6 separate regions of the Homo sapiens genome follow, and all the other regions are linked to region 6. The links are contacts of gene promoters, found by promoter capture Hi-C in blood cells and fetal thymus (Javierre and others, 2016). All regions are on one chromosome and are shown on one strand. The core of a region is centred on a gene start or on the middle of the fragment in contact, and the rest is flanking DNA. Distances in the headings are between cores, read along the strand shown. Region 1 has its middle 25 kb from the start of NWD1. Region 2 holds the start of NWD1 (NACHT and WD repeat domain containing 1). Region 3 overlaps NWD1 (NACHT and WD repeat domain containing 1). Region 4 overlaps SMIM7 (small integral membrane protein 7). Region 5 overlaps TMEM38A (transmembrane protein 38A). Region 6 holds the start of CPAMD8 (C3 and PZP like alpha-2-macroglobulin domain containing 8).

The links. Contacts are between HindIII fragments. The CHiCAGO score rates a contact against its expected background, and 5 or more counts as called.
Region 1: a contact is called between a fragment that was not itself captured here and the fragment with the promoter of CPAMD8 in region 6, in 3 of 17 cell types (M1 macrophages, M2 macrophages and erythroblasts). The highest score is 6.2, in M1 macrophages.
Region 2: a contact is called between the fragment with the promoter of NWD1 here and the fragment with the promoter of CPAMD8 in region 6, in 8 of 17 cell types (M2 macrophages, endothelial precursors, erythroblasts and 5 more). The highest score is 11.7, in M2 macrophages.
Region 3: a contact is called between a fragment that was not itself captured here and the fragment with the promoter of CPAMD8 in region 6, in 1 of 17 cell types (endothelial precursors). The highest score is 5.9, in endothelial precursors.
Region 4: a contact is called between a fragment that was not itself captured here and the fragment with the promoter of CPAMD8 in region 6, in 1 of 17 cell types (endothelial precursors). The highest score is 5.7, in endothelial precursors.
Region 5: a contact is called between a fragment that was not itself captured here and the fragment with the promoter of CPAMD8 in region 6, in 1 of 17 cell types (endothelial precursors). The highest score is 6.1, in endothelial precursors.

The regions. Positions count from the first base shown.
Region 1 is chr19:16,693,302-16,696,669 of GRCh38, forward strand. No RefSeq gene overlaps it. Among named protein-coding and RNA genes, the nearest start is that of NWD1, 25 kb to the right of the region's middle. The HindIII fragment of the contact is 578 bases long and covers 1,477-2,054 here.
Region 2 is chr19:16,717,638-16,721,110 of GRCh38, forward strand. It overlaps NWD1 (NACHT and WD repeat domain containing 1), which reads left to right and starts at 2,210. Exons shown (of 19, transcript NM_001007525.5): 1 at 2,210-2,656. The HindIII fragment of the contact is 21,822 bases long and covers 1-3,473 here.
Region 3 is chr19:16,734,560-16,737,928 of GRCh38, forward strand. It overlaps NWD1 (NACHT and WD repeat domain containing 1), which reads left to right. Exons shown (of 19, transcript NM_001007525.5): 4 at 2,075-2,191. Among named protein-coding and RNA genes, the nearest start is that of NWD1, 16 kb to the left of the region's middle. The HindIII fragment of the contact is 3,826 bases long and covers 1-3,369 here.
Region 4 is chr19:16,644,380-16,647,750 of GRCh38, forward strand. It overlaps SMIM7 (small integral membrane protein 7), which reads right to left. Exons shown (of 5, transcript NM_024104.4): 5 at 1,769-2,882. The coding sequence ends at 2,867. Among named protein-coding and RNA genes, the nearest start is that of SMIM7, 14 kb to the right of the region's middle. The HindIII fragment of the contact is 1,300 bases long and covers 730-2,029 here.
Region 5 is chr19:16,668,210-16,671,667 of GRCh38, forward strand. All of the region lies in intron 1 of TMEM38A (transmembrane protein 38A), which reads left to right. Among named protein-coding and RNA genes, the nearest start is that of TMEM38A, 8.8 kb to the left of the region's middle. The HindIII fragment of the contact is 309 bases long and covers 1,382-1,690 here.
Region 6 is chr19:17,025,217-17,028,373 of GRCh38, forward strand. It overlaps CPAMD8 (C3 and PZP like alpha-2-macroglobulin domain containing 8), which reads right to left and starts at 1,594. Exons shown (of 42, transcript NM_015692.5): 1 at 1,335-1,594. The coding sequence starts at 1,426. RefSeq lists an enhancer at 1,766-2,674. The HindIII fragment of the contact is 6,852 bases long and covers 1-2,998 here.

The sequences.
Region 1 (3,368 bases), core at 516-3,015, 330 kb before region 6:
CACTTTGGAAGACAATTTGGCAGGTTTTTTTATAAGTTAAACATAGAAGCCAGGTGCAATCGCTTACGTCTGTAATCCCAGCACTTTGGGAGGCCAAGGTGGGCAGATCACTTGAGTTCAGGAGTTCGAGACCAGCCTGGTCAACGTTGTGAAACCCTGTCTCTGCTACAAATACAAAAAATTAGCCAGGCGTGGTGGTGTGCACCTATAATCCCAGCTACTTGAAGGCTGAGGCGGGAGGAGCCCTTGAACCTGGGATGGGGAGGTTGCAGTGAGCTGAGATTGCACCGCTGCACTCCAGCCTGGGTGACAGAGCAAGATTCTATCTCCAAAAAAAAAAAAAAAAAAAAAAAAAAAACCAAAACAAAACAAAACAAAAAACAAAATGTTAGCCTGGCACAGTGGCTCACCCCTGTAATCCCAGCACTTTGGGAGGCCGAGGTGGGCAGATCACTTGAGATCAGGAGTTTGAGATCAGCCTGACCAACATGGTGAAACCCCAACAAGGTGTAATTTTGTAAAAATACAAAAATTAGCCAGGCATGGTGGCACCTGCCTGTAATCCCAGCTACTCAGGAGGCTAAGACGGGAGAATCACTTGAACCCAGGAGGCAGAGGTTGCAGTGAGCTGAGATTGCGCCACTGCACTCCAGCCTGGGTGACAGAGCAAGACTCCGTCTCAAAAAAAAAAAACCAACAAAACAAAAACACTATAAGTTAAACATAGGGTGGTCATGGGTGACTCACACCTATAATCCCAGGGCTTTGGGAGGTGCAGGACGGAGGACTGTTTTAGCCCAGGAGGTTGAGGCTGCAGTGAGCTGTGATGGTGCCACTGTACTGAAGCATGGGTGACAGAGCAAGACTCTGTCTTTAAAAAAACAAAAATGTGAATAAATGAACAGCTGTGCTCCGCCCATAGTATTGCCTACTGTTCAGCGAAAAAAAAAAAAAGGCGGTGGAGGTGGTGAACATGCAAAAACATGAATGAGTCTCGAATGTATCCAGATTGGTGGGAAAAAGCCATACAAAAAAGAATGTGTAATATAGGCATCCATTTATCTGAAATCCTAGAAAAAGCAAACTATTGTAACAGAAAGCTGATCAGCATGTGGTTGGGGAAAGAAGGACAGGGTAGGGCAGGTGAGAGGAATTTTGCAGTGGCACCAGGAAACTCGGGTGATGGATCTGCTGATGGCTTTGATTGTGCTGGTTTCTTGGGTCTATACCCATGTCTGAATCTATTAAATTTTACTTTTGGGTTTTTGTTTTGTTTTGTTTTTTGAGATGGAGTCTTGCTCTGTCACCCAGGCTGGAGTGCAGTGGCACGATCTTGGCTCACTGCAACCTCTGCCTCCTGGGTTCAAGTGATTCTCCTGCCTCAGCCTCCTGAGTAGCTGGGATTACAGGTGCCCACCGCCATACCTGGCTAATTTTTGTATTTTTAGCAGAGACAGGGTTTCACCATGTTGGCCAAGCTTGTCTCAAACTCCTAACCTCAGGTGATCTGCCCGCCTCGGCTTCCCAAAGTGCTGGGATTACAGGCGTGGGCCACCGTGCCTGTGCCTGGTCTAAATTTTGCTTTGATTACTTAAGATTTAAAAAAAAATTAACTTTTTTCTTATTTATTTATTTAGAGAGACAGAGTCTCGCTCTGTCGCCCAGGCTGGAGGGCAGTGGTGCAATCTTGGCTCACTGTAACCTCTGCCTCCTGGGTTCAAGCAATTCTCCTGCCTCAACCTCCAGAGTAGCTGGGATTACAGGTGCCCACCACCACGCCTGGCTAATTTTTGTATTTTTAGTAGAGACGGTTTTGCCATATTGGCCCGGCTGGTCTCGAACTCCTTGCCTCAAATGACCCACCTGCCTCAGCCTCCCAAAGTGCTGGGATTACAGGCTTGAGCCACCACGCCGGCCTCTTTTTTATTTATTTTTAATTAATTATTTTTTACTTCTTTTTTTCCCACTCATTCAACCTAAGTACTTAAAAGTTTTCATTTTATATATGCATAGTTCATCTATCAGTTATGCCTCAGTAAAGCTATAAAAAAAGAAGCTTTCAATTATAAGGAAAAAAAGTCTGGGCATGGTGGCTCATGCCTGTAATCCCCGCACTTTGGGAGGCCGAGGCCAAAGGATCACTTGAGCTGAGGAGTTCATGACCAGCCTGGCCAACACAGTGAGACCCAGTCTCTGCAGAAAAAAAAAAAAAAAAAAATTAGCCAGTTGTGGTGATGTGAGCCTGTAATCCCAGCTACTCAGGAGGCAGAGGTGGGAGGATCGCTTGAGCCCAGGAGTTCGAGGCTGCAATGAGCTGAGATTGCACCACTGCACTCCAGCGTGGATGACAGAGTGAGACCCTGTCTCATAAATAAATGAATAGGCTGCAGTAACATACTCCAGACAGAGTCGCTTAAGCCACAGACATTTATTTTTCCCTAATTCTTGAGGGTGGAAGTTTGACATCAAGGTGTCAGTTGGTTTTGTTTCTCAAGGCCTCTCTGCTTGGGTGGCAGACGGCCGCCTTCTCTGTCCTCGTATAGTCTTCCCTCTTCGTATGTCTGTATCCTAGTCTCCTCTGCCTACGAGGACACCAGTGAATTAGATCAGGGCCCACCTATAGACTTTTTTTAAAACTTAATTATCTTTTTTTTTTTTTTTGAGATGGAGTCTGGCTTTGTGGCCTAGGCTGGCGTGCAGTGGCGCCATCTCGGCTCACTGCAACCTCCACTTCCCGGGTTCAAGTGATTCTCATGCCTCAGCCTCCCGAGTAGCTGGGATTACAGGCACGTGCCACCATGCCTGGCTAATTTTTGTATTTTTAGTAGAGATGGAGTTTCACCACGTTGGCCAGGCTGGTCTTAAACTCTTGATCTCAAGTGATCCACCCACCTCAGCCTCCCAAAGTGCTGGGATTACAGGCATGTGAGCCACCCTGCTTGACTGACTATTTTAACTTAATTGTCTCTTTAAAGACCTTATCTCAATCAGTTTGGTGCTAAAAAAATTTAAAAAAAAAAGACCTTATCTCCTGTTTTAGTCCTTTCAGTGTGCTACAACAAAATACTATAAACTGGTGGCTTGTAAACAACAGAAATTTATTTTTCATGGTTCTGGAGGCTGGGAAGTTCAAGATCAAAATGCTGGCAGATTCACTGTCTGGTAAGGGCTGGCTATCTGGTTCACAGATGGTGTCTTCTTTTGGTGTCCCCACATGGTAGAAAGATCAAGGAGTTTCTTGGGGGCCTCTTGTGGAAGGGCACTAATCCCATTATGAGGGCCACATCCTCATGACCTAATCACCTCCCAAGGGCCGCACCTCCTAATACCATCACCTTGGGGCTAATTTTGGACTCAGGTGATCTTCC
Region 2 (3,473 bases), core at 960-3,459, 310 kb before region 6:
TCTCGAGTAGCTGGGATTACAGGTGCTCACCACCACGCCCAGCTAATTTTTGTATTTTTAGTAGAGACAGGGTTTCATCACGTTGGTCTGGAAGCCTGTTTTCATCATCAATGAACTGGGATAGTAAATTGAAGCCCCCAGATTGCTTGGAGTATTGGAGACAGTATGTTTCCTAAAATTTCAGCCCCTAAAACTTCTTTTCTTTTCTTTTTCTTTTTTTGTTTTAAAGAGACAGGGTTTTGCTCTGTTGCCCAGGCTAGAGTGCAGTGAGGCAATCATATCTCACTGCAGCCTTGACTTTCTGGGCTCAAGTAATCCTCCCACCTCAACCTCCCGAGTAGTTGGGACTACAGGCACACACCACCACGCCCAGCTAATTTTTTGTTATTGTTGTTGTTGTAGAGATGAGGGTCTCACTATGTTGCCCAGGCTGGTCTTGAACTCCTGGCCTTGAGTGATCCTCCCACCTTGGCTTCCCCAGTAGCTGGGACTACAGGAGCATGCCACTGTGCCTGGCAGCACCTGAAACTTCTTTTTTTTTTTTTTTTGTGAGATGGAGTGTAGTGTGGCTCTGTCGTCCAGGCTGGAGTGCAATGGCGTAATCTCTGCTCACTGCAACCTCTGCCTCCCAGGTTTAAGTGATCCTCCTGCCTCAGCCTCCCAAGTAGCTGGGATTACAGGCACCTGCCACCATGCCTGGCTAATTTTTGTTTTTAGTAGAGATGGGGTCTCACCATATTGGCCAAGCTGGTCTCAAATTCCTGACCTCAGGTGATTTGCCCACCTCGGCCTCCCAAAGTGCTGGGATTACAGGCATGAGCCACCGCGCCTGACCAAGTATCTGAAACTTCTATCCCTGAAAATATAGTAACACTATTATTATTACTTTTTCTTTGAGATGGAGGCTTGCTCTGTCGCCCAGGCTGGAGTGCAGTGGCGCAATCTCGGCTCACTGCAAGCTCCACCTCCCAGGTTCATGCCATTCTCCTGCCTCAGCTTCCTGAGTAGCTGGGACTACAGGTGCAAACCACCACGCCCAGCTAATTTTTTGTTTTTTGTTTTTTGTTTTTTATGTAGAGACAGGGTTTCACCATGTTAGCCAGGATGGTCTTGATCTCCTGACCTCGTGATCTGCCTGCCTTGGCCTCCCAAAGTGCTGGGATTACTGGCGTGAGCCACCATGCCTGGGTGACTTGTGAGTTTTTGAGACAAAGTCTCGCTCTGTCACCCAGGCTGGAGTGCAGTGGTGCGATCTCGGCTCACTGCAAGCTCCACCTCCCGGGTTCATGCCATTCTCCTGCCTCAGCTTCCTGAGTAGCTGGGACTACAGGTGCAAACCACCACGCCCAGCTAATTTTTTGTTTTGTTTTGTTTTGTTTTTTTTGTAGAGACGGGGTTTCACCGTGTTAGCCAGGATGGTCTTGATCTCCTGACCTCGTGATCTGCCTGCCTTGGCCTCCCAAAGTGCTGGGATTACTAGCGTGAGCCACCATGCCCGGGTGATTTGTGAGTTTTTGAGACAAAGTCTTGCTCTGTCGCCCAGGCTGCAGTGCAGTGGCAGGATCTCGGCTCATTGCAACCTCCAACTCCCAGGTTCAAACAATTCTTGTGCCTCAGCCTCCCAAGTAGCTGGGATTACAGGCATGCGTCACCACGCCCAGCTAATTTTTCTATTTTTAGTAGAGATAGGGGTCTCACCATATTGGCCAGTCTGGTCTTGAATGCCTGACCTCAGGTGATCCGCCTGCCTCGGCCTCCCAAAGTGCTGGGATTACAGGCATGAGCCACCGTGCCCGGTCTTGGAGTTTTAATGGTAATTAATCATGGCTAACATCTCACGGGCCCTTCCTGTGATGTAGGTGTAGTGTTAGTCTCACTCTCTATATAAATGCTTTTCATTGTCTCACCAACACAGGAAGTTAGTGAGAAAATTCAAGTGCAGAGTAGTGAAGCGTCACAGGCAAGGGACTTCACCTTTCTGCATCTTGTTTTCTTCATCTGTGAAACAGGATCATAATGTCTGTCTCTTGGGGTAATAATGTGGACTGCTAATGCCAAATGCCAACCAACTGCACCTCCTAGACTGTCAGCAAATGGCATCTTTTACGAGGAGCCGTATCAGCCTGGCACACAATAGTTAACCACTAAGTCTGGGCTGAATGCCCGGCTAAGCTGGTGCCCTAGTGCAAACAATCGCTTTCATTATCCCAGTTGCTGGGAGAATTGGGCAAGGAGAGACCCATAAAATACCTAAGACGAAAGTTACTAGGATAGCCAGGGGCTTGTCTTCCGGGTGGCGCCGAGGCCAGGAAACTGTCCTCTCTAACCTATTTCCCCAGAGGAGTCTAAATTGGTCGTTCAACTACCAGCAAAGGCTAAAGAGAGGCTGGAGCCCCCAGGACAGCCAGAACGCTGACACTGCAAAGGGCCTCTGTCCTTACTGGGGAAGCCCAGTCCTGCTCAGCTGTCTTCTTCAGCAACAAACAGAAGTCCAGAAAGAGAAACAGTTGTGGAGGAAGCTGTTGTGATGATAATTTACTGAGCACCTACTATGTGCCAGGCACGCCAGCCTTACCAGACAAGATCCTTGGGCTCATGGAATTCACTTTCTCGTGGGACAGACAAACAATAACATGTAGAAACATATCAGCTGTTGGTGAGTACCATGCAGAAAATTAAAATAAGGCGATGGCATTGGGAGTGACTTAAGGGGTCACTACGCAATGGGATGGTCAGAGACAGCCTCTCAGGAGGAGGTAGCATTGAAGCTAAAATGTGAACAACATGAACAGATGCAGCATAGAGCACTAAAGTACAGGACGTGCAAAGGCCCTGAGGTTGAAATAAGCTAAATGCATTAGACTAGGGGGTTCTCGAGTAAGGGGAATTCTGCCCCCTAGGGGACATTGCAATGTCTAGGGAGACTTTTTTTTTTTTGAGACGGAGTCTCGCTCTGTCACTAGGCTGGAGTGCAGTGGCGTGATCTCAGTTACTGCAAGCTCTGCCTCCCAGGTTCACACCATTCTCCTGCCTCAGCCTCCTGAGTAGCTGGGACTACAGGTGTCCGCCACATGCCCGGCTAATTTTTTGTATTTTTAGTAGAGACGGGGTTTCACCGTGTTAGCCAGGATGGTCTCGATCTCCTGACCTCATGATCTGCCCTCCTCGGCTTCCCAAAGTGCTGGGATTACAGGCGTGAGCCACCGCACCTGGCCGAGACTTTTTCTTTTTGAGATGGAGCCTTGCTCTGTTGCCCAGGCTGGAGCGCAGTGGCACGATCTCGGCTCACTGCAACCTCTGCTTCCCGGGTTCAAGCGATTCTCCTGCCTCAGGCTTCCGAGTAGCTGGGATTACAGGTACATGCCACCGCGCCAGCTAATTTTTGTATTTTTAGTAGAGATGGGGTTTCGCCATGTTGGCCAGGCTGGTCTCGAACTCCTGGCCTCAAGTAATCTGCCTGTTTTGGCCTCTCA
Region 3 (3,369 bases), core at 362-2,861, 290 kb before region 6:
TTTTTTTTTTTCTTTTTTCTTTTTCTGTTTTTCTTGCAACAGGGTGTCGCTCTGTCACCCAGGCTGGAGTGCAGGCATGCAATCACAGCTCACTGCAGCTTTCTGGGCTCAGGTGATCCTCCTGTCTCAGCCTCTCAAGTATCTGAGACTACAGGCACACACCACTACACCTGGCTATTTATTTATTTATTTATTTATTTATTTATTGTAGACACAATGTCTCCCTATATTGTTCAGGCTGGTCTCAAACTCCCGGCCTCAAGAGATCCTCCTCCCTCAGCCTCCCATAGTGCTGGGATTATAGGGGTAAGCCACTTTGCCCTGCCTCTGTTCTAATTTTTTTATTTTAATTAACTTGCTTTTTTATTTCTTAATTTTTATTTTTTTAGAGATGAGGTCTTGCTACATTGCCCAACCTGGTCTTGAACTCCTGGGTTCAAGCAATCCTCATGCTTCAGCCTCCAGAGTAGCTGGGATTATAGGCACATGCCACCGTGCCCGACTAAATGTTTATAAATAAACTTCTGAATTTGGAATTTAGGCTTACAGGAAACGCATGGACAGTACGGAGTTCCCATACACCCCACACTCTGTGTCTCCTAACGTTTTACCTAACCACAGCACAACCAACTATGTTGTTACAACTATGAAATGAACTTTGAGGACAGGTGCAGTAGCTCGTGCCTGTAATCCTAACATTTTGGGAGGCTGAGGCAGACAGTTCACTTGAGATCAGGAGTTTGAGACCAGCCTGGCCAACATAGCAAAACTTTATCTCTAATAAAGATACAAAAAAATTAGCCAGGCGTGGTGGTGCACGCCTGTAATCCCAGCTACTCGGGAGGCTGAGGCAGGAGAATTGCTTGAACTCGGGAGGCGGAGGTTGTGGTGAGCTGAGAGTGCACCACTAAGCTCCAGCCTGGGTGACAGAGCAAGACTCTGTCCCCCTGACCAAAAAAAAAAAGAAAGAAAGAAAGAAAGAAATCAGTCTGGGGGCAGTGGCTCATGCCTGTAATCCCAGCATTTTGGGAAGCCGAGGTGGGTGGATCACCTGAGGTCAAGAGTTCGAGACCAGCCTGGCCAATATGGTGAAACCTTATCTCTACTAAAAATACAAAAAATTAGCCAGGCATGGTGGTGTGCGCCTGTAGTTCCAGCTACTCAGGAGACTGAGGCATAAGAATCGCTTGAACCCATTAGGCAAAATTTACAATGAGCCAAGATCATGCCACTGGAAGGAAGGAAGGAAGGAAGGAAGGAAGGAAGGAAAGAAGGAAGGAAGGAAGGAAGGAAGGAAGGAAGGAAGGAGGAAGGAAGGAAGGAAGGAAGGAAGGAAGGATTTTCCAGTGAGACAAGATTGCGCCACTGCACTCTAGCCTGGGTGACATAGCAGGACTCCAACTCAAAAAAAAAAAAAAAGATAAATCAACATTGGTACATGACTGTTAACCTCCTGACTTTATTCAAATGTTGCCAGCTCTTCTATCTAAGTCTTTTCTGGTGAAGAACCCCATCCAGGGTACCCCATTGCATTTCGTTGTCTTATTGCCCTAGTCTCCTCTGGTCTGTGTCAATTTCTCAGTCACCTTATTTCTCATGACCTTGGCAGTCTTTTTCTTTCCTTCTTTCCTTCTTTCCTTCCTTCCTTCTTTCCTTCCTTCCTTCCTACCTTCCTCTCTCTCTTTCTTTTGACAGAGCCTGGCTCTGCTGTCCAGGCTGGCATGCAGTAGTACAATAAGAGCTCACTGCAACCTCTGCCTTGTGGGCTCAATTGATCCTCCTACCTCAGCCTCCCGAGTAGCTGGGACTACAGGTGCCCACCACCATGCTTGGCTTTGACTGGCAGGGCATCTTGAAGAACGCCCTTCCCTCTAGTCTGGGTCTGTCTGTTATTTTTCTCATGATTATACTGAGGTTATGAATTTGGTTCAAGTTCTTTTAATCCAGACATCCCCCTACAGGAAGAGGCTGTCAAAAATTTTTGAAAGAAACTTTCTGCTTTGTCAAAAGGGATTGAAAAAACAAATCACCTGTCATGCCACCTCTCTGACAAACTTGTGTTTCTATTTCCCAGGTCGTTGATCTGAGGTGGGGTATTCGGAACATTGAAGCCACTGACCACTTGACCACAGAACTCTGCTTGGAGGAGGTTGACCGGTGTTGGAAAACATCCATAGGGCCAGCTTTTGTTGTGAGTGTCTTGGGAGGAATGGGTTAGCTCTTACTCCTCCAGGATATGCCCCCTGCTTTCTAGACAAACTGATCAGCAGAGGGAAGTAGGTACCGTTTCTGCTTTCGTACCTTATCCCTATGGCCTGCCTGTGGCAGACATTACTAATCAATCACAGAACTCTTTCTGCAGAGCTGAATGGGATCCAGACATTAGCAGTCAAATGGAAGCAGCAGGTGGCTTGGAGAGTAGAATGTTGAAGCCAGAAGGAATCTTGGAATTTGATCTGGACTTTCTCCCACCTTCCCCACCCCCTCCACTTTATGTCTATAGAACTTTGGGATCCTGGAAAGCCATGGAAAAGGTGGAAACCCACAGGGTCTTGGGATATTTTTTTTCCTCCATGTGCCCACTGGTTTCAGGTCGTGGGGACTTCTCCCCTCTCTCTTCCAATTGCACCCCTTCTATCAAAAAATCAATCTCCAGTCCACAATTAATGGTTTTGGCTATTAAAATTGAATGATATTCCTGAGTCTTTTTTCTTTTTCTTTTTTGAGACAGAGTCTCAAAAAAGCCCAGGCTAGAGTGCAGTGGCAAGATCATGGCTCACTACAGCCTTGAACTCCTGGGCTTCTGATCTCCCTGCCTTGTTCTCCCAAGTAGCTGGGACTACAGGTGTGTGCCGCCACAGTTGGCTAGTATTTTTTTGGAAATATGGGGTCTCACTATGTTGCCCAGGCTGGTCTTGAACTCCTAGGCACAAGTGATCCTCCCACCTTGGCCTCCCAAAGTTCTGGGATTACAGGCATAAGCCAATGCACCTGGTCTAGTTTTAAGTTTTTTTTTTTTTTTGAGATGGGTCTTGCTATGTTGCCCAGGCTGGCCTGAGTCCTAATTTATTACATCGAGTTCCAGATACATCCAAGAACGATCACATTTTCCTTAGAAATTCTAGAGCAGGGGGCCGGGCGTGGTGGCTCACACCTGTAATCCCAGCACTTTGGGAGGCCAAGGTGGGTGGATCATGAAGTCAGGAGATTGAGACCAGCCTGGGCAACATAGTGAAGTCCCATATCTACTAAAAAATTAGCTGGGCATGGTGGCACGTGCCTGTAATCCCAGCTACTTGGGAGGCTGAGGCAGGAGAATTGCTTGAACCTGGGAGGCAGAGGTTGCAGTGAGCCGAGATCATGCCACTG
Region 4 (3,371 bases), core at 130-2,629, 380 kb before region 6:
CCAAAATGCTGGGATTGCAGGGTGTGAGCCTCTCACTGCACTCAGTCTGTTTGTAACTTTTTTTTTTTTTTCCGAGACAGAAGATCTTGCTCTGTCACCCAGGCTGGAGTGCACTGGCACGATCTCAGCTCACTGCAACCTCCACCTCCTGGGTTTTTAAGCAATTCTCTGCCTCAGCCTCCTGAGTAGCTGGGATTACAGGGGGCATGCCACCACACCCAGCTAATTTTTGCATTTTTAGTAGAGACGGGGTTTCACCATCTTGGCCAGGCTGTTCTTGAACTCCTGACCTCGTGATCCACCTGCCTCGGCCTCCCAAAGTGCTGGGAGCCACCGCGCTGGCCTCTGTTTGCAATTCGTAAAAATGCTGTCATCAGCCTTTAATGGTGTGTGTGCAGACTGCACAAAGAAAAGTGGATGAGAAGACAGAAAACACACACGGTGATGATACCCACAGCAACAGGTGCTCTCAGGCACTCAGCCGCATTCGAGTTCATTGAAACTTACAACAACCTTAGGCACACACTACTTGCAGGCCGATTTTAGAGATGTGGAAACTGAGGCTTGGAGAGGAGAAAGCAATTAGCCAAGGTCCCTCTCAGAATGAGCTGAGATGGGATTTGTACTCACACCTAACTGACCCAGAACATTAGTGCTTAAACACTGTGAGACACTAGGCACCCAAACTTCAAACTCTGATAACCTCTGGTGCCAGTAAAGTTCTTGAAAAGCTTCCTTAAGAGACACAACCATGAGATTCCATTTTTAAAATGTACAGCAGCCACCAACCAGCATCTGAAAAAGCCACGCTGCTATTATTAACAATGAGACAACAGTTCTCTGGAGAAAAAGAGGACTATTGAAACAAAACCTCAATGACAGGATTCTCTTCTGAGAGCACGATTCATCCCCATAATGGACAAATGCCTCGCCTCATTGAGACCTCCGCGCCAGTCTGAATAAGGCAGGAAGGTTTCTTCACACCATTCATCTGGCCTGTGAGGGACCCAGCCAAGATCTTGGCGTGCCTGTTCTGACAGCGACACCGGCCTCAGCAAAGCCAGACCCAGCAGCTCCGATCTCTGCTACTTACAGACCTTGGGGTGATGCTTGGCTGAGATTTGGCAAGGAAATGAATTGCAGAAGTGATCAAGGAGAATTCCACAACCTGAGAGGCAGCAAAAGTGGACTTGACCCTGGTCTAGCAAGAGCCCACCATTAGCAATGACTCTTTCAATACTTTCAGGAGCAGCTCCAGTCAAAATTCCACTTACTCAATTCTTTTTTTTTTTTTTTTTTTGAGACAGAATCTCATTGTCTCACCCAGGCTGAAGTGCAGTGGCTCAATCTCAGCTCACTGCAACCTCCGCCTCCCAGATTTAAGCAATTCTTGTGCCTCAGCCACCCGAGTAGCTGGGATTATAGGCGTGTGCCACCATATCTGGCTAATTTTTCTATTTTTAGTAGAGATGCGATTTCACCATGTTGGCCAGGCTAGTTTCGAACTCCTGACCTCAAGTGATCCGCCTACCTCGGCCTCCCAAAGTGCTGGGATTACAGGTATGAGCCACTGCGCGCAGCCCCACTTGCCCAATTCTTGACCATCATTTATTGAGCTAAATCCAAAAAGGAAACTCTACCACTGACTCTTTTCTTTCTCATGGCCTCCAAAATGAATCCTAGGTTTTTCCAGCAGGGTAAATTCAAAAGGACTCAGGTTGGAAATTGACTTCTTGGTTAAAAAAAAAAAAAAAGTATAAACAAAAGGTCCTTTTTAGAAATGAGGTTTATTTTCAAGGCTACTCAGTCCTAAAAGCCTGCATATTTACTTTTTTTCCTTCCTCCAGGTTTACCTCCAAGTCAGGATTTCAAAAACCACCAACATTCAGGCTCATTCTTATTGGTATAAACAAACAAACAAAAAAACCAGACAACAAAAAACTCAACAAGCAAATCACACAGTTGTGGGATTCAGCGCCAACCCCGGGCGTTTCATTTTGGCAACAAAACCAGGATTCCCTTTCAAAGAAGCTTCTGGAAAATGCTGTATTTCCTAGATGAAGGCCCCTGGTTTTTCAACCTCAAAATCACCTACTCAAAAAGCAGACTCAGAAACCCAAGGTTTTAGAACATGGTCCCAATGTACCACATCATAAAATCACTCTCATTCCTGCAACTGTACAATGAATGGCTCCCAAAGTCATTTTATTTAACAAAGGGGTCAAGGCAGAGGAAAGTTTCCCTTAATATCCCCACAACTGCTCCACATGTCTTCTGTGGAAACACTTCACCAGGAACTAGCTCAACACTCTTGCTAACAATTTAGTGTCTATACAGGAAGGCTGGTGTCTCTGTTACAGGTGGCCCGTTCCTTAAAGCCTTTAGGGTTAATCGCAGCTGCACTGAGTGGCCAAGCAGACCCTGTTGGGATGTGAAAGCAGTTTGTTAACAGGGCCCCTGGCCGGGCCCAGAGGCTGTCAGACTCAGCAAGTAACACTGAATGTCCAAAAATACGGCTGTGTTAAACTAACAAGCCAATCCTTCTGCTCAGATCTCTGGATAGAAATGATTTTTCTTTTATCTATGGGGAATGCAATTTCATCACAGCCCCTTACATAAACGCTCCTGAAACCCTTTCAGTAGACAGCATTTCAATTCAGAGACCAAAGTGAAACTATCTTTGAAAACAGGGACGTGGCTGGGAAACCATGCACACCTCGGCGAACACTTTTCCACCCACCACGAGCTTGGACTTTCTGGGAAGGTTGTCGGTTTTCTGGTCAAAAACATTCTTGAAGTCATCAGGAATGGAGGAATGGAGACTCGGCATCCCGGGAAAGTGAGTTCCTGGTTTCATCGCTGGGATTCAAGAGCCGAACAGCCTGGAGAAGTCAGAGGGCAGAAATGTCTGTGAGGATAGGAGGTGACTGTTCTAAAAATATTGTCAGCGATTATTTTACATGACTATTACCTATTACTTAGATGATTTTACATGATTGTCTGATTTTTTAAAGTAACCTGTGATCCACCTGTGAATATAATTAACAATACTGAACTACACAGTTAAAAGAAGAATATACTCTTTTTTTTTTTTTAGACAGAGTCTGGCTCTGCCGCCCAGGCTGGAGTACAGTGGTGCGATCTCAGCTCGCTGCAACCTCTGCATCCGAGATTCAAGCGATTCTCCTGCCTCAACCTGCTGAGTAGCTGCAATTACAGGCGCCTGCCACCAAGCCAGATTAATTTTTGTATTTTTAGTAGAAATGGGGTTTCACCATGTTGGCTGGGCTGGTTTCGAACTCCTGACCTCAAGTGATCCACCCGCCTCAGCCTCCCAAAGTGCTGGGATTACAGGCGTGAGCCACTCCGCA
Region 5 (3,458 bases), core at 286-2,785, 360 kb before region 6:
GAAAAATAAATAATAAATAATAAATTAATTAAATAAATAACTCAGAATCATGGGGCTGAAGGAGGTGGCTCACATCTGTAATCCCAGCAAGTTGGGACACCAAGGCAGGCAGATCACTTGAAGCCAGGCGTTGGAGACCAGCCTGGCCAACACAGTGAAACCCTGTCTCTACTAAAAATATAAAAATTAGTCAGGCATGGTGGCGCAAGCCTGTAATGCCAGCTACTCCGGAGGCTGAGGCACGAGAATTGCTTGAACCTGGGGGGAGGCGGAGGTTGCAGTGACTCTGTCTCAAAAAAAAAAAAAAAAAAAAGAGATGGGGGTTCTGTTGTGTTGCCCAGGGTGGTCTTGAACTCCTGGGCTCAGGAGATCCACCTGCCTTGGCTTCCCAAAGTGTTGGGATTACAGACATGAGCCACTGCACCCGGCCAACCACTGATCTTTCTTTCTACTACCTCCAGAGTTTTGCCTTTTCCAGAATGTCCTTTAGTTGGAATCATGCAGTATGTACCCCTTTCAGACTGGCTTCTTTCACTTAGGAATATGCATTTAAGGTTCCTCCATGTCTTTTCATGTCTTGATAGCTCACTGGATAATATTTCTTTCTTTTTTCTTTTTCTTTCTTTTTTTTTTTTTTGAAATGGACTTTGCTCTTGTTACCCAGGCTGGAGTGCAATGGTTTGATCTTGGCTCACTGCAACCTCTGCCTCCCAGGTTCAAGTGATTCTCCTGTGTCAGCCTCCTAAGCAGCTAGGATTACAAGCATGTGCCACCACGCCTGGCTAATTTTTTGTATTTTTAGTAGAGATGGGGTTTCTCCATGTTGGCCAGGCTGGTCTCGAACTCCCGACCTCAGGTGATCTGCCCGCCTTGGCCTCCCAAAGTGTTGGGATTACAGGCGTGAGCCACTGCACCCGGCCAAATAGTATTTCATAGTAAGGATGTTTCATGGTTTGTTTATCCACTCACTCCCTGCAGGACATCTTGGTTGCAGTTTTAACTTTTTTTTTTTTTTTTTGAGACGGAGTCACTCTGTTGCCAGGCTGGAGTGCAGTGGTGTGATCTCGGCTCACTGCAACCTCCGGCTCACTGGTTCAAGCAATTCTCCTGCCTCAGCCTCCTGAGTAGCTAGGATTACAGGTGCCCGCCACCATGCCCAGCTAATTTTTGTGTTTTTAGTAGAGACAGGGTTTCACCATGTTGGCCAGGCTAGTCTTGAACTCCTGACCTCAAGTGATCCACCCGCCTCAGCCTCCCAAAGTGCTGGGATTACAGGTGTGAGCCACCACACCCAGACAAGTTTTAACATTTTTCATATGCTGTTAGGACCAAAGAAAACCATTCTTTGATCCCTGATTTGAGATCTCTGGTTTGAACTACAAGCTTTTTGAGGGCAGGAGGCTGTTGACTCCTGCTCCACCTTGTGAGGGAGAGGCTGCTATCTCCATTTAACAGGGGAGGAAACTGAGGCAGAATGCTGAGCTCAAAAGCTCAGGAGGAGAAGACTGGTCCTAGAGTCACTGAGAGACTCGGTCAGTACCCCATGCTTCATACACCTCTGACTGAATAGCACAGTGCTAGAGTGCCCTGGGGACCCTTCTAGTACCACCCAGTCATCTGCAAATGAGGCATTGACCCCTGAAAAGGGAAAGTCACAGAGTCCATTGCAGACCAGGACTTAGGGACCCAAAGCTTTTTCCTCTCTTCTGAGGCAGAGCTGATTTTTTTCTGTTTGTTTATTTATTTATTTATTTTTATTTTATTATTTTATTTTTTTGAGACAGAGTTTCGCTATTATCGCCCAGGTTGGAGTGCAGTGGCGCGATCTCAGCTCACCGCAACCTCCGCCTCATGGGTTCAAGCGATTCTCCTGCCTCAGCCTCCCGAGTAGCTGGGACTACAGGTGCCTGTCACCACGCCCAGCTGATTTTTGTATTTTTAATAGAGATGGGGTTTCATTCTATTGGCCAGGCTGATCTCGAATTCCTGACCTTGTGATCCACCCGCCTCGGTCTCCCAAAGTGCTGGGATTACAGGCATCAGCCACTGCGCCCGGCCTGTTTTTTGTTTTTTTTTTTTTTTGAGACAGAGTTTTGCTCCTATTTCCCAGGTTGGAGTGCAGTGGCATGATCTCGACTCACTGCAACCTCCGCCTCCCAGGTTCAAGCGATTCTCCTGCCTCAGCTGCCGGAGTAGCTGGGATTACAGGCATGAGCTACCGTGCCCAGCCGAGGCAGAGCTGATTTTTAAAAAATCCATCTACTGAAATTTCCACCCACAGGTACTTTCCATTTCCGCACTGTTCCAGAAATACCTCTTGCGTCGTTGCTAGGCGCTAAGCAATCTCTTTTTCACCCTCACAGGCATCTTTGGAAATGACTGATATAGATCTGGTGTGGTCACCTTGTCCAGGCTTTCCCAAGATGAGCATCGAAAGTCCCATGTCCAGCCGGGTGCGGGGGCTCATGCCTGTAATCCCAGCACTCTGGGAGGCCGAGGAAGGTGGATCACCTGAGGTCAGGAGTTTGAGACCAGCCTGGCCAACATGGAGAAATCCCATCTCTACTAAAAATACAAAAGTTAGCCGGGCCTGGTGGCGGGTGCCTGTAATCCCAGGTACTCGGGAGGCTGAGGCAGGAGAATCACTTGAACCCGGGAGGTGGAGGTTGCATCAAGCCAAGATCGCACCACTACACTCCAGCCTGGGCGACAGAGCAAGACCCCATCTCAAAAAAAGAATAAAAGAAAGTCCCATGTCCCAGGAAACCCCTGGGACCCAGGCAAAGGGGGATAGTTGGTCACCCTAGACCGCCTCCCCCTCCTACATATGGGCAAACTGAGGCCCAGGGAAGGGAGGGACTAGCCTAAGCTCACCCAGTCAGAGGGGAATGTGTTCATGGCATGCGGCAGTTGAAAACCTATTGGCTTCATGGGGCTGTCCCAAACCCATCAAGAGAAACCAAGGAGTATGGAAAGGGGAAAGGACCTGGGCTTTTTTTTTTTTTTTTTTTTTTGAGGCGGAGTCTCACTCTGTCACTCAGGCTGGAGTGCAGTGGCACGATCTTGGCTCACTGCAATTTCCGCCTCCTGGGTTCAAGCAATTCTGCCTCAGCCTCCTGAGTAGCTGGGATTATAGCCATCCGCCACCATACCCAGCTAATTTTTGTATTTTTAGTGGAGACGGGGTTTCACCATGTTGGCCAGGCTGGTCTCAAACTCAAACTCCTGACCTCAAGTGATCCACCTGCCTCGGCCTCCCAGAATGCTGGGATTACAGGTGTGAGCCACTGCGCCTGGCCGTCATCTTGGTCTTTTGACAGTGAAGCAAACTAAGGCTTGGGGGGGCAGGCAGTCACTTGCCCAAGGCCATGCTAGAGTGAGTAGCAGAGCCAGAAGCTAGGCATGTGATGAGGTTTTGCCATGTTGCCCAGGCTGGTCTTGAACTCCTGAGCTCAAGT
Region 6 (3,157 bases), core at 344-2,843:
CCTGGCTAACATGGAGAAACCCCATCTCTATTAAAAATACAAAAAATTAGCCGGGTGTGGTGGCACACGCCTGTAATCCCAGCTACTCAGGAGGCTGAGGCAGGAGAGTCATTTGAACCTGGGAGGCGGAGGTTGCAGTAAGCCAAGATCGTGCCATTGCACTCCAGCCTGGGCAACAAGAGTAAAACTCCATCTCAAAACAAAAACAAAAACAAACCCCAAAAACAACAAACAACAAACAAAAACCTCTGTATAAGGCAGGGTCTCTCATTGGAGCCAAGGTCTGTCATGTGGGGCCGCGTCATTCCTTGCAGTGGAAGCTGACCTGCACATCGAAAGCTGTTTACCAGCATTCCTGGCCTGCACCCACTTAATGCCAACACCAAATGCCTCTCCCTATTTGTGACAACCAAAAATACCTCCAGACATTTCCCAGCGGCCTCAGGGAGACAAAAATCCCCCCCAGGGCTGAGAACCACTATTCTAAGGGATGCCAGCTTTGAAAGAAGCATTAGGATGAAAATTTGTAGGGTTCCGATTTCACGAAGCCTAGGAGAGGGAAGTCTGGATGCTCAGAGCGCAGTAGACTGTCTTGCTTTTAAAACTGTGACCAGCAAGGACCAACTACTCACTGCAAATAACGACACCCACCTAGTCTCACTGCTTACCAGTTTTCTGGAAACTCCTAAACAAGGGCTGCTTGAACAAGCCGCCTTCTAAACGCCCAGCTGGACTAAAAGGCTGGTCTTGTGCAGACCAGGGCAGCCCCCCTGAACCCGCAGCCCTGCAGAGCTCACCCGAACTTGCCAGGTTTAGAAATATTCTCTGTGAAGCCAACTTAGCAGTACTCCCCAGCAGTTAGTTAATTCACCTTCTCCCCGCTGTCAACCCACCAGAAGCCTGCAAGCAAACCTCTAGAAAAATGTAGAAGCAAAACAAACACTTCCTCCTCCCTCACCACGCCCACCCACGGGAAAGTGCCCCTTCGCACTCTCCTCCCACTTCTCAGCCAAGACGCTCCTCTTACCTTCATACCTTGGACAACTGGAAATCGCCACCCATGATGACAGCCCGGGTCACACGAAGGGGGCGAGGTGGGGCGGGGGGAGCTGACCTCAGCACCTTTAGCTTTTGGGAGTCCCTGTACCTCCACAGAGCCACTTCGGAAACTTTAGGGCGCCCCCTCCTCAAGACGATTCGGGAACAAGAGGCCAGGTCCAGCCCAGCGCGGAGGCTGTGTGGCCTTGGGCAGGTCGCTGCAACACTCTGAGCCAGTACCCGCGACCCCCACCCCAGAAGGCGACCGACCTCCTCTGTCGCCGGAGGATACTCACGGGGCCTGAGGCTGCGCGGCGCGCACGCCGTCCCGCGCCGACAGCAGCAGGAGCAGGAGCGGGAGCAACGGCCAGAGCAGGGCGCCGCTCATTTTTCGGCTCCTGGGGGGCGCCGCGCCTGGGGAGGGGGCCGGGCCAGGGCTGGGCCAGGGCCAGGGTCCGAGCGCGGCCGTCCTCGCGCCGCCGCCGGGGGCCCTTTGTTCGCAGCCCCCGCGCAGTGCGCCCGGCGCCATGCGCCCCGCTCCGCGCCCGGCCAAGCTGGGGCAGCCCCGGGCCAGCCCCCTCCCCGGACCCGCCTCGTCTCCGGGACCGCCCCGCTCGCCCCGCTCGCCCCGCTCCTGGGCGCACCCTCCCGGGACGCCTGCTCCGCCCATCTCCGGACCCCGACCCGCCCCGATCCCTTCCGGGGATCGTCCCCTCACTTACTCACCGGACCCACCCGGGCCCTGCCCGATTCCTTCCGAACCCGCCTCCTCACCCCCTACCCGGATTCGCCCCCGGATGCCCCCCTCCCCACCAGCCCCGCCTCGGACCCGACCCCCCACCGCCCCCACTCTCCCTCTCCTCTCCACCCAGCGTCCACTCGGAACCTGTCCCTTCCCTGGCCTCTCCCTCCCTCCCTCCCCAGCCAGCCCCTTATGGCCCCCTCCCCGGGCCCGCCCCTCACCAGGGGCCCCTGGGTCTGGACGCCGCCTGCAACCCCGATCCCACAGGCGCCGCCGTGCCCTAAGCCCTGGCCTGTATCTAGTGCCCAGTGCAGTGCGTACAGCCCAAGGAGCAGAGGACCCTTTGGGGAAACAGTCTAGCCAGGGGTCGAACCTCCCAGACTCACATCTGCCCCAGGTCCCTATCTGTGCTCTCTGCTCCCCTCTCCCCCACCCCCACTGTCCACAAATCCCTTGGGCCCGTCCCCTCTCTCGCTGGGCCTCAGAGTCCCCCTTTCCCCTTCATACAGCAGGGGTGGATGGGCACCCCCTTTCTCTCCAAGAGCAGGGTGTCCCCTCCTGCCCCTCCCCGTGTGGCCACCTCAGTGATGGTCCTGCTGTCCTAGGTCCCACTGGCAGGCGGCACATCCTATACCATGTCCAAGTCCTGGACCCCCTCCTTCCAGTGTGGAACCCCCTTCCCCCAGCTACCAACTGCCCTTCTTCTAAAATTCCAGTGCTGACCACACCCCCTCCTGCCCGGAATCCTCGGGGCTCCCTGTTTATTTTACATTTTATTTTTATGTTTTGAGACCAGAGTTTTGCTCTGTTGCCCAGGCAGGAATTTAGTGGTGCAGTCACAGCTCACTGCAGCTTCAGACTCCTGGAGAGTAGCTGGGACTACAGGTGCAAGCCCGCACCCAGCTAATTTTTATATATTTTTTTTTAGAAACGGAGTCGCACTGTGTTGCCCAGGCTGGTCTTGAGCACTGGGCTCAAATGATCCTCCCTCCTCAGCCTCCCAAAGTGCTGGGATTACAGGTGTGAGCCACCACATCCAGCCAGGGCTTCCCGTTTATTGAGACCAAATCTAAACTCTGGCTTTGATGGCAGAGACCTCAGCCTAGTTCCTCCAACACCCTGTTCTTACTCCACTGCCTGCTTCTGCCTAATCTCTGTCTTCCTCTACCTGCCTCCTTTGCCAGTCCAACTCCTGATCCTTCCAGGAAACTCAAGGGAAGCTTCTCTTGCCCCCTCCCTGCCCCTAGGGATGTGGGTCCTCTGGGGGCTTCTCAGCCCTGTCAACAGCCTTTGGACCCAACACTGATCACCCAGGCAGCACCAAGCCCTGGGCTGGGCAATGAGGACCCTGGGACATACAGGACCTGCTGCCACTGA